Regions from separate parts of the Homo sapiens genome. Here region 1 is linked to region 2. The links are contacts of gene promoters, found by promoter capture Hi-C in human tissues and cell types (Jung and others, 2019). All regions are on one chromosome and are shown on one strand. The core of a region is centred on a gene start or on the middle of the fragment in contact, and the rest is flanking DNA. Distances in the headings are between cores, read along the strand shown.

Region 1 (3,057 bases), core at 386-2,885, 1.1 Mb after region 2:
CAGCATCATCCTGATACCAAAACCTGGCAGAGACACAACAAAAAAAGAAAATTTCAGGCCAATATACCTGAAGAACATCAATGTGAAAATCCTCAATACAATACTGGCAAACCGAATCCAGCAGCACATGAAAAAGCTTATCCACCATGATCAAGTCAGCTTCATCCCTGGGATGCAAGGCTGGTTCCACTTAACATAATCAATAAACGTAATCCATCACATAAACAGAGCCAATGACAAAAACCACACGATTATCTCAATAAATGCAGAGAAGTCCGTCAATAAAATTCAACACCCCTTCATGCTAAAAACTCTCAATAAACTAGGTATTGATGGAATGTATCTCAAAATAATAAGAGCTATTTATGACAAACCCACAGCCAGTATCATACTGAATAGGCAAAAGCTGGAAGCATTCCCTTTGAAAACCAGCACAAGACAAGGATGCCCTTTCTCACCACTCTTATGCAACATAATATTGGAAGTTCTGGCCAGGGCAATCAGTCAAGAGAAAGAAATAAATGTATTCAAATAGGAAGAGAGGAAGTCGAATTGTCTCTGTTTGCAGATGACATGATTGTTTATTTAGAAAACCCCATCATCTCAGCCCAAAATTTCCTTAAGCTGATAAGCAACTTCAGCAAAGTCTCAGGATACAAAATCAGTGTGCAAAAATCACAAACATTCCTATACACTAATAATGTAATAGTACATTAATAATAATATACACAAACAGAGAGCCAAATCATGAGTGAACTGCCATTCACAATTGCTACAAAGACAATAAAATACCTAGGAATACAACTTACAAAGGATGTGAAGGACCTCTTCAAGGAGAACTACAAACCACTGCTCAAATAAATAAGAGAGTACACAGACAAATGGAAAAACATTCCATGCTCATGGATAAGAAGAATCAATATTGTGAAAATGGCCATACTGCCAAAGTAATTTATAGATTCAATGCTATGCCCATCAAGCTACCATGGACTTTCTTCACAGAATTAGAAAAAACTACTTTAAATTTCATATGGAACCAAAAAAGAGCCTGCATTGCCAAGACAATCCTAAGCAAAAAGAACAAAGCAGGAGGCACCACACTACCTGACTTCGAACTATACTACAAGGCTACAGTAACCAAAACTAGCATGGTACTGGTACCAAAACAGATATATAGACCAATGGAACAGAACAGAGGCCTCAGAAAATATGTCACACATCTACAACCATCTGATCTTTGACAAACCTGACAAAAACAAGAAATGGGGAAAGGATTCCCTATTTAATAAATGGTGCTGGGAAAACTGGCTAGCCATACGCAGAAAACTGAAACTGGACCCCTTCCTTACATCTTATACAAAAATTAACTCAAGATGGGTTAAAGACTTAAACATAAGACCTAAAACCGTAAAAATCCTAGAAGAAAACCTAGGCAATACCATTCAGGACATAGGCATAGGCAAAGACTTCATGACTAAAATACCAAAAGCAACGGCAACAAAATCCAAAATTGACAAATGGGATCTAATTAAACTAAAGAGCTTCTGCACAGCAAAAGAAACTATTATCGGAGTGAACAGACACCCTACAGAATGGGAGAAAATTTTTATAATCTATCCATCTGACAAAGGGCCAATATCCAGAATCTACAAAGAACTTAAACAAATTTACAAGAAAAAAACAAGCAACCCCATCAAAAAGTGGGCAAAGGATATGAACAGACACTTCTCAAAAGAAGACATTTATGTGGCCAACAAACATATGAAAAAAAGCTCATCATTACTGGTCATTAGAGAAATGCAAATCAAAACCACAGTGAGATACATCTCACGCCAGTTGGAATGGCGATCATTAAAAAGTCAGGAAACAACAGATACATATTTTATCAATTTAATGATTCCATTGTACATTCTGTGGCATTTAGCATATAGACAATAATGTATCTATGAGTAATTATATTTCTAATTATTTCACTCCAATCTTATTTCTCTTTTTACTTTTTTTAATTGACAAAATTGTATATTTATTTAAGGTGTATAACATGATGTTTTAATATATGTATATATTGTGAAATGACTAAATCAAGCTAATTAACCTCACACATCTTTTTTGATGGTGAGAAAATTTAAAATCTACTCTTTGAGCAATTTTCAAGCATATAATACATTGTTGTTTCCTATAATCACCATGTTGCACAATAGAATTCCCACTTATTCCTCCTGTCTAACTGAAATTCTACATTCTTTAACCAATATCTTCCCTGTTTCCTACTCTCCAGCCCCTGGTAACCACCTCTCTGCTTCTGTGAGTTCAACTCTTAGACTCCACATATAAGTGAGACCTTGTAGTATTTGTCTTTCTATGCCTGGTTTATTTCACTTAGCATAATGTCATCCAGGTTTATCCTTGTTGCAAATGACAGGATTTCTTTCTTTTTAAAGGCTGAATAGTATGTTGTTGTGTATATATACTATATTTTTCTTATTCATTTATTTGTTGATGGACAGTTAGGCTGTTTCCATATCTTAGCTCTGGATAATAATGCTGCAGTGAACATGGGAGTGCAGATACCTCTTCAACATAAGTATTTCATTTCCTTTGGCTATATATCCACAAGCATAATGGCTCGACCATATGGTAGTTCTGTTTTTAATTTTTTTTTTTTGAGATGGAGTCTTGCTCTGTCACCCAGGCTGGAGTGCAGTGGCACAATCTCGACTCACTGCACCCTCTGCCTCCTGGGTTCAAGCGATTCTCCTGCCTTTGCCTCCCGAGCAGCTAGGACTACCATGCCCAGCTAATTTTTGTATTTTTAGTAGAGACGGGGTTTCACCATATTGGCCAGGCTGGTCTCAAACTCCTGACCTTGTAATCCACCTGCCTCAGCCTCCCAAAGTGCTGGGATTACAGGCATGAGCCACCATGGCTGGATCTGTTTTTAACTTTTTGAGGAACCTCCATACTGTTTCCCAAAATGACTGTATTAATTTAAATTCCCACCAACAGTTTACAAAGGTTTTCTTTTCCACACATCCTCAAAAACACTTTTTAATCTCT
Region 2 (3,034 bases), core at 485-2,984:
CTCAGAGCCTCAGCAGAGCAATTCTGAACCTCTTCCTGCTGCCTACTCTGGAAGACAGGGAAGGTTTTGGCCAGAGCCCTGGCCTTTGTGAAAGTTGAAGGACCAGGGCTCCGGGCTGGCTGTCCCTCTGACCATGACCTTGGGCAAGGTCACCACCTGCATTTGAGCTCAGGTGCCCCATCCTGTAGCAGGAGGGGTGGGGTTAAACCATCCAGCAGCCCTTCATGATCTAACTCATGGCCTAGATGCTGGAAGAGCCCACTGGCCAGCTCACGGCTGAACCCAGCCCAGTGCTCCTGAAATGACCCAGCTTCCCATTGAGCTCTGGAGTGTGTCATGGGGGCTTCTGCTGAGAGGTTTTCATCCTCAGTTCCACTTAGCCATGCTCAGTTCCTGCATCCTTAATCTGTCCAAACACCTGGCCAGCAGGTCCCCATCATACAGATCAGAAAGTGCAGCCTCAGAGGGGTCAGGGGCTCCCCAAGGTCATATATCACGCAAGTGACTAGGCTGGGGCAGGAACAAGCACTATGTGATTTTGACCTAGGAGAACTTTCCCATTTGGTAAGACCCGTGGGTAAGCTTTTGCCCAGTGGTGGGGAAGGGCTTTGATAGGGGGTGTGTCTCTCTTTGTCCCCAAGGGACAATGTGGCTCAGAGTTAAGGGCTCAGAATTCTGCCTGTTCATTTCCCCAAAACAGATCCTGGCTCTGTAGGGGGAATGGGGCTAAGGGTCAGGCCTGCCCTGGGGAAGCGAGCAGGCAGGGCTCAGGATGGTGGCTCTGGGCTCTGCTCTAACAGTCTGCCCTCCTGTCCAGTTGAGCAGCCCTGTGATTCTGCTGGGTGAAGGAAGGAGCCCAGCATCTCTGGGAAGCATCTCTGCTGCTAAGACCACAGTGCATTCCTGCAGTCAGACCTCAGACAGGGGTCTGGGTTCCTACAGGGTGTTCTGTTAACAGGGTCCAGCATGGGCCCGAGGGAAGCCTGTGATCTCCACGTCCAGCCAGGCTCAGCCTGTCCCTCCAGGGCAGAGCTGCTCATGACTGGGAGTTCTCTCTCCATGAGGTAGGGCTATGGTTTGAGTAAAGCAGGATGAGCTCAGTTGACCTTTTGTAGATACACAGCGAAGCCCAGCCCTTTCTATCTTCACCTTCTGTCTCCACCTCCATCTCATGACAACTCTCTGCGTAGGTGGGGTGGCCCCTGGAATCATTTTGCAGATGAGGATCTTGAGGCTTCCCAAGGTCACAGGGAGGGTGACTTGCCAAGCAAAGATCCAGCACCCAGCCCTCTGGTCCCCAGCCCTAGGCTCACCCCACTGCACTTGCTGCTGCTCTACAGAGCAGTGTTTCTAGGGGTCTTGGGAAAAAAATTGAAGCACAGAAGTGGCCAGATGTGCCTGCTGTCTCCTGGCCACCTCCCACCCCTCAGGCAGCCCTATCTGTGGTGCCAGTGTGCAAGGATCAGCAGCCAGGAGGCAGGGTCTTACCTGCAGCAGTGGTGATGCCCAGGAGCCGGCAGGTGTATTCCAGCCCAGTCCAGAACACCTGGAGCTGCATGGTGCCAGGGGTGAGGACAAAGTCCTGGCAGGGCAGGCAGCAAAGTCTTCGGCCCTGAGATGCTCCCGAACACCCTTGTGTAGGTAGGAGGCTGCTGGCTGTGGCTGCACACCGGGGCCCTGCCTTCCCAAACCAGTCCTGGCCACCGCAGCCTGGCCGAGGTGTGAATAGGGCTCACCTTCTGTGCTCTCAGCCCGTGCCCTTGCCAGGCACTCAGCTTAATCATTACCTTGGAAGAATGCTCCTGCTGCTCACACAACCCCAGCCTGGGCTGGAGCCGCTCAGCCCCAGCGCAGCCCAGCCGCCTGAGATCGGCGATTAGGGCTGGGCTGGAGGCAGTCTGGAGCTGGCAATTAACCGTTTCTGGCTGGGAGGAGGGAGCCAAGGAGTGGGCCAGGCCCTTCCTCACCAAGCCATGCCTAGAAAGTCACACCTGGATTTCACACTTGCTGGGGGCCTGTAGTGTCTGGCTCTGGAGGGGACAGTGCTCTTGCAGGTCTGTGCTTATGTGCATATGGGAGAGAGGAGTGTGTCTTTAAATCACCAGTAGAAACAACTTTTGAAATGAGTTCCAAGCTTTATTCTTCTGCGTATAGGTGGATTAGAAAGCTTTTCAAATCTGTCCCGGATTTGGACTCTGACTAGACATACTTAGCTCAGGCCCCGCCACGCAGAGGCCTTCCTTCCTCATTAACATGCATCCCAACATGGGACGTGGGAAATCATTTTGATTCTTTGTTTTGCGAGGGGAGTTGCTATGTCAATAATTAACCGGGTGACCTTGGGGAAACCCAAAGGCATCTGTGAGCCTTGGTAACTTTTGCAGAAAATAAATGTGAAGTTTTGGCTGAATTGGTGTTTTTGATGTACTTGGAGTGTCCCTGTAGCTGTTTCAAGGAGCCCAGCCTTTACACTTGGACAGTGGTGGGCTTTCCCTCATTCTTAATTTACTAACGGATGTGCTAGATTGAATGGTATTAAGATTTATCTCTCAGGTGTTTTTCTGAAATCTTTTACCCCTTTGCTCATATAAGATAGAAAACAAAACAACCAAATAAGGAAAAAAACTCCAAGCAAACCCAATACACATGCTCCTCAACTTATGATGGGGTTATGTCCCAAAAAACCCATCAGACATTGAAAATATTTTAAGTTAAAAATGCACTTAATCCAACCAACCTACTGAACATCAGAGCTTAGCCTGGCCTACTTAAATGTGCTCAGAACACTTAGTTTATGGTTGGGCAAAATCATCTAACACAAGGTTTATGTTATAAAGTGTGGAGTAGCTCATGTAAGAATATATTGTAGGGCATGTTGCTAGCCCAGGAAAACATCAAAATCCAAAATTTAAAGTACAATTTCTACTGAATGTACATCATTTTCACACCATCCTAAGTTGAACCATGGAAAGCCAAGGTCTGCCAATAATAACGGAAAACTCAAGAACAATTAGTTTGGCCCTTCCCTCCCCTC

Evidence for each region. Contacts are between HindIII fragments. The study calls those that stand out against the background at their distance.
Region 1: a contact is called between a fragment that was not itself captured here and the fragment with the promoter of TMEM72 in region 2, in 1 of the 25 tissues and cell types used here (dorsolateral prefrontal cortex).

The regions. Positions count from the first base shown.
Region 1 is chr10:43,830,030-43,833,086 of GRCh38, reverse strand. No RefSeq gene overlaps it. Among named protein-coding and RNA genes, the nearest start is that of LINC00619, 14 kb to the left of the region's middle. The HindIII fragment of the contact is 4,882 bases long and covers 1-3,057 here.
Region 2 is chr10:44,910,037-44,913,070 of GRCh38, reverse strand. It overlaps TMEM72 (transmembrane protein 72), which reads right to left and starts at 1,734. Exons shown (of 5, transcript NM_001123376.3): 1 at 1,489-1,734. The coding sequence starts at 1,558. The region is part of intron 2 of TMEM72-AS1 (TMEM72 antisense RNA 1); the gene reads left to right. The HindIII fragment of the contact is 5,310 bases long and covers 1-3,034 here.